Linked DNA regions of Homo sapiens: regions 1 and 2 are each linked to region 3. The links are contacts of gene promoters, found by promoter capture Hi-C in human tissues and cell types (Jung and others, 2019). All regions are on one chromosome and are shown on one strand. The core of a region is centred on a gene start or on the middle of the fragment in contact, and the rest is flanking DNA. Distances in the headings are between cores, read along the strand shown. Region 1 overlaps LOC105371240 (a long non-coding RNA gene). Region 2 overlaps LOC105371240 (a long non-coding RNA gene). Region 3 holds the start of CBLN1 (cerebellin 1 precursor).

Region 1 (2,935 bases), core at 390-2,889, 610 kb after region 3:
CTCTGTGGTTCAGGCTTAACTCCAAAGACATGATACTGGTTCAGTATCAATAAAAATCTCCTAAGAGGCTAACTGTCAAGTAGGCTTTGTCTTAACCTCTTAAATTACATTATTCCAGGATCCTAGGGGCTAAGGATCCTGATGAAACTGGTCCTAGTGATGAAAACCTAGCACCATGATGCAAAACAAACCCTCCAAGTCACCAAAATAGAAAAGCAGGTAACAAAATTGTGTTTTGGGAAGACATCTCCTGCTCTGTTACGAAGATAGATTAGGGGAGGTGGGACTAGAGGAGTGAAAAACAAGAGGCTAGGAAGGATGAAGTTATGGGAAAAAAGAGGCCAAAAAAGGATGCCAGAGGAATGGGGAGAATCATGGCAGATGGGGAGAATCATGGCAGATGGGGAGAAGGGGACCTTTGAGATGCCAGGCATCTGTGTGAAATTAGGTTTTACTTTTGCCCATATTCCTAGAGTCCCCAAATCATTTAGCTTCCCTATATTCATCCTTTCCTTGCCATCCCCACAGATGCATCCAAGCTTAATCATTTTAAGCAAAGCACTACCTTTCCCAGCTGATAAAAATACTTACAACTCATCATGGTTGCTACTATCGCATAGTCTTTTATTGAATCTCTTCCCATTTGTTGGAAATTCAGAAAGCATCCAACTTCCTGCTTAGGCAGATCCTGCTAACTGGCATGAACCATAGGAGCACAGGAAAACTCCCTTCTGAGAAGAAAATTTCCAACACAGAAAAATACCTGTCCACTTTCCTAACCATTTCTCTGTGGACCTGGGTGGGTGAAACACATCGATTCTGCAGGGAAGAACTTTGAGAATAGAAGTCATATGTTAGGATGGTGGAGAAAAAAGTTAGAAGGGGTGGCTGCCTGATGGCTTTGTGAAGTCTGGATCAGTTACCTCCAATTAATTTACATGACAAAGAAACAAACTTCTATGTTATCAAAGAATTCTTAGGTTTCCAGTTCTGTGTGATTAAATCTAATTCTCACTGGTACTATGGGCTTGTCTTCTTCCTCCCCTCTTCCTCCCATCTTTATTGGGAAGGAAATAGAATATGTGCAGTAACCTTACAGCTCACACAGCTAATAGGCAGCAAAAAATCTTTAATCCACATATTTCTGACTCTGAGCTTGAGTTCTTTCCATGGCACCAAGACTTGTTCTGAATTCCATTTTGATAAGCATAGCATGGTATGCCTGGTAGGAATGTCAGCATAAAGTACCAAAAGCAGGGAAGGCTTCTGGGGTCAGTGAGTAGCTTCCCTGGAGCTATACTTTATTACAAAAACAGAGGGGGCTGTCTTGAACCAAATTCTTTCAAATATAAGTAAGAAAATCTCAGCTCAAACTAAACTAAGCAAAATGGAAATTAATTGGTTCAAAGTGTTCAGAGAAAGGTGGGGATTTGCTAGCTTTGTGCACAGATGGATCTAGGGATTTCCCAATATTTTTATTTTTCTATTTTATTCTTCTATCTCTACCCATTTGCTCTTCTTCACTCAATGGTTGATTTCATTCTCTCCCACAGCAGTCAGTCTTTCTCCATAAGGCAGAGGGAAATGATCTTTAATTGACCCAGATTCACATTCTCCCAGCTTAACATGCCAAGCCAGAGAACATGCATCTCTGTCTATGTCTGTATATTAGTGCTATTGAAGACTATGATTGACACTATCTACTCCTGGAATGACTGCTATGGCTGTGAAAGGAGGTACCAAGATTGTCTAGCTAGCATAGAATGGATAGCCCAGGAGGCTGAGGCTGCAGTAAGCCAAGATAATGCCACTGCACTCCAGCCTGGATGAAAGAGCAGGACACTATCTCAAAAATAAATAAATAATATTTTTCAATGTAAAACTAAAATTTAAGAAAAAAATTAATCAATGGAAACAGACCTAGAAATGACAAAACTTATGTAATTAACACACAAAGGCATTAAAAGAGCTTTTATAAATGTGTTCAAAATGCTTAACTAGTTAAAAGAAAAGCACAAGCGAAAGGAAAAGTGGAAGTTATTGTTTTAAATAGAAATATCAGAAATGAAAAACACAACAGCTCAAGAGAAACTTTCACTGGATAGGAATAACTAGATATTAGATATTATAAAAGAAAATATGTAATTGAAGAAGTAACTGTAGCAACTAGCCAAAATAAGGCACAAAACAAAATAAAAAACTATAAAAATGAACAGTCTCAATATCCTATGGAACAAAATCAAACAGTTTAATAATTGGAGTCCCAGAGAAAGAGGTATATAAAGAAGCATAAGAAAACTTTGAAAGAAATAATGCCAACTTTTTTTTTTACAAATTTGATGAAAATCAGAAAGACAGATCCAAGAAGTTCAACAAACCTCAAACAAAATAAATATAAAGCAAAGCACATCAAGCAACATCTTAATCAAATTCCTGAAAGCCAGAGGAAAAAAATAACTCATTGTTTACAGAGGAACAAAGATGAAAATGATTTCAGACCTCTCATCAGAAATCCAGAAAGGAGACAACATCTTTAAAATACTAACAGAAAAAAATAACTGTCAACTTAGGATTCTATATACAATAAAAATATATCTCAAAAATGAAGGCAGGCCCAGCGTGGTGGCTCACACCTGTAATCCCAGCACCTTGGAGGCCAAGGCGGACAGATCACTTGAGGTCAGGCATTCGAGACCAGCCTGGCCAACATGGTGAAACCCCCGTCTCTACTAAAAAATACAAAAATTAGCTGAGTGTGGTGGCAGGCATGTGTAATCCTAGCTACTCAGGAGTCTGAGGCAGGAGAATCGCTTGAACTCAGGAGGCAGAGGTTGTACTGAACCAACATCGTGCCACTGCATTCCAGCCTAGGTGACAGAGCAAGATTCCATCTAAAGAAAAAAAAAAGAAGGCAAACAAAAATATTTACAGAAAA
Region 2 (3,092 bases), core at 478-2,977, 590 kb after region 3:
GCTAAAAAGATCAGGCTGTCAGAGGGCAATGCTGCCCTTGGCAAAGATATGTGGCCTTTCTCAGACTCAAATAAAGGGCAAAGGATAGCACATCTCCTTCATTCTCTTTCTCCTGCCTGTGACATGCCTGAGAATCCCAGAGGTCATTCTCACTGCCCACAGGCATTCCTACTGGATCCCAAGTCCCTGCTGGGATCATAGCCATTATGATGCTCACAGGCTTCCCTGCCTCTAGAGATGGGTGCTGCAGTTGAGCCCTTGTGGCTAGTGGATGACACACCTGCTTCCCCCCACCACCACCCTGACTATGAGCATCTTGAGAACAGGACCAGGTCTTAGCCTTCGCTGTGGCCCCAGCACCTCCCCCGGGGCCTGGTGCATAGTAGATGTTCAGTAAGTATTGGCTGGAGAGAGAGAGGGAGGAGAAGATGGAGGAATTGAGAAATGGAGGAATAGAGGGATAGGGAAATACATCAATCACCTGTCTCCAGTCAAGGACAGGCATTTAGCAGCTGTTCAGAAAATAACTGATTGATTTTAATAGGCAAATGATAGGTCTTAATAAAATTCTCATTGTTGCTGAGCACAGTTGGGCTAGATTTTGAATAACAGTTTCTGTAAGACATTGATTCAGAATACCCCAGACCCCGGACCACCTCCTCTGACATTTTTATCAAATCAAAGGACATTGTGCTATATAGTGCAAAAAGCACACAGCCTAGAACTCTGCCACTTATCTGGTTTGTGATCGTGGGTATATTTCCTTAAGCCTCTGTTTCCTCTTATTAAAGAGTAGGGGAATGCAGAGAATTGCAGTAGGAATAAAAGGAATACTTTTTTGAAAGCAATTTGGGGTGTTTGTTTATTTTGTTTGTTTTTTTTCAAATCAAAATGAATGTATTGAGTACCTGCTGTATGTTCTTTCTGAGTGCTGGAAAGAAAGATAAAAGACAGTCCCTGGCCCAGAGGACCCCACAGTCTAGCAGTGAAGACAGACCCAGGAATGGGGATGTGATGGTTAATTTTATGTGGCAACTTGCCTGGACCACAGCACCCAGATATTTGATGAAGCATTATTCTGGATATTCCTGCGATGGTGTTTGGGATAAGATTAACATTTAAATCAGTGGACTCTGAGTGAAGCAGACAGCCATGTGGGTGGGCTTCATCCACTCCGTTGAAGTCCTGAATAGAACAAAGACGGACTTCCGCTACATAAGAAGGAATTCTGCCAGCAGACAGCCTTTGGACTCAAATTGAAACTCTTCCCTGCTTCCCTGGGTCTCCAGCCTACCCATCAGATTTTAAGCTCACCAAGTTTCCACAGTCACATGAGTCAATTCTTTCAAGTAAACCTTTCTGTATACACACATCTTGTTTCTGTTTCTCTGGAGAACCCTGACTAACACAGAGGACAATAACACAATAGTGAGTTGGATGCTCTAAGAAGGATCCTTAAGAATCCAGTGTCACGGAAAACCAAGGAGCAGTGATTAGCTCCATCTAGAAGGGTGTAAAGGAAGGCTTAGGATACTGGAGCTGGGACCTGAAGGCCAAGTTCATATTAAAAGATGAGAAAAGGGTCAGGCGTGGTGGTTCACACCTGTAATCCCAGCACATTGGGAGGCCAAGGAGGGCGGATCACCTGGGGTCAGAAGTTCAAGACCAGCCTGGGGAACATAGTGAAATCTGGTCTCCACAAAAAAAAAAAAAAATAGCCAGGCATGGTGGCACATGCCTGTAATCCCAGCTACTTGGGAGGCTGAGGCAGGAGAATCATTTGAACCCGGGAGATAGAGGTCGGAGTGAGCCAAGATTGTGCCACTGCACTCCAGCCTGGGCGACAAGAGCAAGACTCCATTTCAATATATATATATGAAAAGATCTTCCAAGCATCATTCAACAGGATCATGCTCACTCCCTCCATTTCCTTAGTAGTTATATGAACTTTAATCAGATTCTCTTTCTCTTGAAAATTCTCTTCTCCAGGCTGTTCCAGCCTATTTTCTCGTTTGAGGACCTAGCTGTGTGACCTAGACAAATCCCCTAATGTCTGTGAGCCTCAGTTTACTCCTTGTTAAATGCCTATTCATGGAGTCCCGGAAGGCACTTTGCACATTTCCTATTCTGTATTGCACCTTATAATTCTGTATTATTTTTACAGTGTTCAGCAGGTTCATACCCTACGGAACATCAATGAGTTTCTTCTGACCTCTATCCAAGGAAGTAGGGAAACAGGTTTACCTTATAGCATGCACTATATAAATTAGCTGCAAAGAAAGACAAATATTTAACAAATTTAAATAATCAAATAATACTATATAAGATTGTGAACTCTTATATCCTAGAGTTTCATTACAAATGGAGACACTCCTGGGACTCTAGTGGCAAGGGGCAGGAGGAAAGAAGAGTTGGCATCTTGTGTTCCTCCAAGGACACAGTTGGATGCAGAGCCTCAATGTCTGAACCTGAAATTGGCCTCAGAGGGAGGACAGTTAGGCAGGCTGTTCTCTGAGATGGGAAAAGCATTAACTATGGAAGAATGGGGAGTCCTCTGCCCCACTCTCCCCACTATGCAAAAAAGCAAGAATTCATGAAGATGGCATCTGCTTGGCCACAGACCAGAATCATCCTGGGATACCTGGATGAGACAACCCTGCAGAAAGCCCCATGCAGTCATTACATCTGTAGAGCCCCATCACAGACTCCTGAGCGTCAGGGTGGTCCAATCAAGGGCATTAAATGGGAACTCCCCAGGGGCCTGATATAGGCCAGTCATTCAGGGGATAAACTTCTTTATCTGGGGCTCTTTACTTACCCCAGGACCTGCTGGGCCAAGGTTCTCTTTCAATAACCAGTTTTGTTGCTCAAGGATAAAGGGAGAATGCCCCATGGGCAGAAGAAACTAAATCCCTGAAGAATTCAATTGGCTGCTGCATCCACTGAGAAGATTAAAAATATACTGAGCACATACTGTTTCCCTCTTAGGAGGAGAAAGAAACTAACTAGACTACTCTAAGGATGTTCCTTAAGTCTCAGGCCAAATTAATGTCCAGACACACATTATTTGTGTGAATTGAAAAGATCTTATG
Region 3 (3,001 bases), core at 466-2,965:
CGGGGGTCGGAGGTGAGATTTCCTCCACATAATTCCTTAAACAGCTATCAACTAAGTCTCAAAGAAAAAAAAAAGAGATCTAGAAGCAGAGACGTGGCTGCTGGCGATCCCAAAGCTGGTGTTCGCTCTTGGGGGAGAGCGTACCCTGGGGGAGGCCGGGAGGCCGGGCCAGAGGCTAGCCCAGAGGCAGAGGGCAGGAGCGCTCAGCCGGCGCCCCGCGTCTCTCCAGCTCCCGACGCTGCGCTGGCTCCGCTGAGCACGCCAGGATCAAGGTCGCCTGGTGGGGACCGGAGCGCCAGGAGCCTGTGGGAAGCGTTCCAGCCGGCCTCTGACTGGGATCCGGCGCCGCGTTTCTGCTTTGGACTTGACTGACAGGTCCCCCCGCCCTCCCGCCGCCCTACTACCAGCCTGGGTTCATCCTTCAGGGCTACGTCTACCGCACCCGGGCTGGAAAGCCTGGAGCGCGCCCTTCCTCTCCTCATCTTCTCAGCTCTCCTTTCTCCCTGCCACTTGGCAAAGCTGCATTTTGACTTTCACGTTTTGGACTACGTGTGTGTAGTTCCAAGTCCATGCGTGGCACGAAAATCCACTTAGGGTAAAAATTATTCTCGAAAAATCGCCCATCTCAGGATCTGGTGTCTACACTCAAGGCTAGGAGGTGCAGGTACGGGTGCGTAAAGCATGCCGTAAGGGTGCACAGTAAATAAAAAGTACGGATGCAAAATGTAAATTTTAAGTGCAAAACAGAAAAGCAGTACTCGTTGCCGCCCCGCACGCTGGGTTTTAAGGGGCACGAAGGTGGGCCTCGGCTGCTTTTGCTCAGCCCCGCGTCCTCAGCGCCCGGCCCAGTACCCGGTACTCCGTAGGGGTTCAATGATCTCCCCTGAATAAGTGAACGAATTAACAAATGAATGAATGACCGCTCGATCCGACCTCCGCGGCCGGCAGAGCAGTCGCTGGAGAGGCGGGAGAGAGCGAGAGGCCAAGCTCCACCATCGCGGCCGCCGGCTGGGGCAGAGGGACACGGAGACACTCGGCGCCCCGGCTCCGCACCGAGTCCCCGCGGTGAGTGCCCGCCCAGCAGCTCCCGGGCACCACGTGCGCCCGCCAGAGCCGCGCAGGCCCCGCCCCGCCGCGCGCGCACGCGCCCTGCACCCCGGCCGCCGGGACCCTGAGCCAGGCTCGCCCAGCGCGCCGGCTGCCCTCGCGCCCGCGCCCGCTGGGGGGCGCTCCCCTCCCAACGGGCGCGCCCACAGGCGGGCAGGCGACTCGCAGCCTCCAGCGATTCCACTCCCGACCCCGGGGCGCGCCGCCTCCTACCTGAGGGCCGACGAGTGGGGGCGGGCAGGAGGGCCGAGGGAGGCGGAACAGGATCGAGGCGCGAGGCGGGAGTCGAGAAAGCGAGCGGCCGAGGCGACTCTCAGTGCGCGGACGCGGGCGCGCGCCCGCGCTCCCTTCGTCGACTCACGGCGAGAGCCCAACCCTGCTGCCGCGCGCCACCCGCCTCGCCGCGCCTAATAACAACGGCGCCCGGGGTCAGGTGGCCGAGCGCGGACAGCGCCGCCATTGGCTCGGTGGGGAGCGCGGCGCGTCAGGATTGGCTGGGGGGCGTGGCCTCGGCCGGGGCGGGGGCAGGGCCTCGGAGGGAGGCGGGCCGGGAGGCGGCGGGGGCGGGGCCAGGCCGAGGTCCGCGCCTTTGTGCCCGGCGCGCGCTCTCCGCCCGCTCCGGCTGCAGCGCCGGCTGCATCAATAATTCAGAGCGGCGGCGGCGGCGGCAGCGGCGGGTGCGGGCAGGAGGCGGCGGCAGCAGCGGGACCGAGCAGCAGCGGCTATGCATCCAAGTGCGGCTGGGCAGCCGCGGCACCCCTGAGGCCCGGGAGGGGCTCCGGGAACACAGCGCGGAGGGGACGCTAGTCGCGGAGGGGACGCTAGTCCCGGAGTGCGAGGAAGAGGTGTAGTGTCCAGAGCGGCGGCGGCGGAGCTGCGCACGGAGCTGAGGAGGGGGCTTCGGAGCGGGACTGGGACGGGGGGGGCGGCTGGCGCGAGCAGCCCTGGGGGTGGGGGGCGGGGTGGGCGCCGGCGGCGCGATGCTGGGCGTCCTGGAGCTGCTGCTGCTGGGGGCTGCGTGGCTGGCGGGCCCGGCCCGCGGGCAGAATGAGACGGAGCCCATCGTGCTGGAGGGCAAGTGCCTGGTGGTGTGCGACTCCAACCCCACGTCCGACCCCACGGGCACTGCCCTGGGCATCTCTGTGCGCTCTGGCAGCGCCAAGGTGGCTTTCTCTGCCATCAGGAGCACCAACCACGAGCCGTCCGAGATGAGTAATCGCACCATGATCATCTACTTCGACCAGGTGAGTGTTCCTTCCTCCCGCGGCGTGCAGATTGGGCTGGTGAAGGAGGGATGGATGGAAGACCGATGCCCGGTCCTCTCCAAGGGCTCTGCGGAGGCGCGGGGACGACAGTCCGGGACCGATTCCTGCCCACTCCCCTTCGTTCCCGTCTCGTTATAGGTACTAGTGAACATTGGGAACAACTTTGATTCAGAACGCAGCACTTTCATCGCCCCGCGCAAAGGGATCTACAGTTTTAACTTCCACGTGGTAAAAGTCTACAACAGACAAACCATACAGGTCAGCCGACGCCTCGTGCCGGGCCCTGGCCCCGTAGGGGGGTTACTGGCCTCAGGGGTGCTCGGGCTGTCCGGAGGTGGTAGGCAGAAGTGGCGGCTGCATGTACTTCGGGCTGCTTGGAGGGACAGATAGCGGGGCCTCTCAGTTCTGTGGCTTCAACTGTCCTCTGCTTTCCCTGTCTCTGGCTCTTGGGATCCAGCCCCATCCCCCGAGAGACAGAATTTTCTGCTTCTGCCTTCCGGGCCTCTCCGAAGGGTTCCCTGGATTTCAGGGACTTCCTTGTAACGGCTGTTGTTAGCGCCCCAGACAGCTGCCGCTTGGGAAGCCTTCCCGGACTCCCCAGGAAGCACCGCGACAGTACACCCTACCCC

Evidence for each region. The method cuts DNA at HindIII sites, captures the fragments that hold promoters and counts their contacts. A contact is called where the count stands out against the background at its distance.
Region 1: a contact is called between a fragment that was not itself captured here and the fragment with the promoter of CBLN1 in region 3, in 2 of the 25 tissues and cell types used here (dorsolateral prefrontal cortex and mesenchymal stem cells).
Region 2: a fragment that was not itself captured here is called in contact with the fragment with the promoter of CBLN1 in region 3 in 1 of the 25 tissues and cell types used here (H1 embryonic stem cells).

The regions. Positions count from the first base shown.
Region 1 is chr16:48,668,839-48,671,773 of GRCh38, reverse strand. All of the region lies in intron 1 of LOC105371240 (a long non-coding RNA gene), which reads right to left. Among named protein-coding and RNA genes, the nearest start is that of N4BP1, 60 kb to the right of the region's middle. The HindIII fragment of the contact is 5,921 bases long and covers 1-2,935 here.
Region 2 is chr16:48,688,645-48,691,736 of GRCh38, reverse strand. The region is part of intron 1 of LOC105371240 (a long non-coding RNA gene); the gene reads right to left. Among named protein-coding and RNA genes, the nearest start is that of N4BP1, 80 kb to the right of the region's middle. The HindIII fragment of the contact is 7,279 bases long and covers 1-3,092 here.
Region 3 is chr16:49,280,552-49,283,552 of GRCh38, reverse strand. It overlaps CBLN1 (cerebellin 1 precursor), which reads left to right and starts at 1,715. Exons shown (of 3, transcript NM_004352.4): 1 at 1,715-2,351; 2 at 2,511-2,630. The coding sequence starts at 2,088. SYNAGE (synapse stability regulating cerebellar lncRNA) reads right to left here and starts at 1,491. Exons shown (of 4, transcript XR_933530.4): 1 at 1,321-1,491. RefSeq lists silencers at 1,062-1,161, 1,532-1,641 and an enhancer at 1,994-2,611. The HindIII fragment of the contact is 18,550 bases long and covers 1-3,001 here.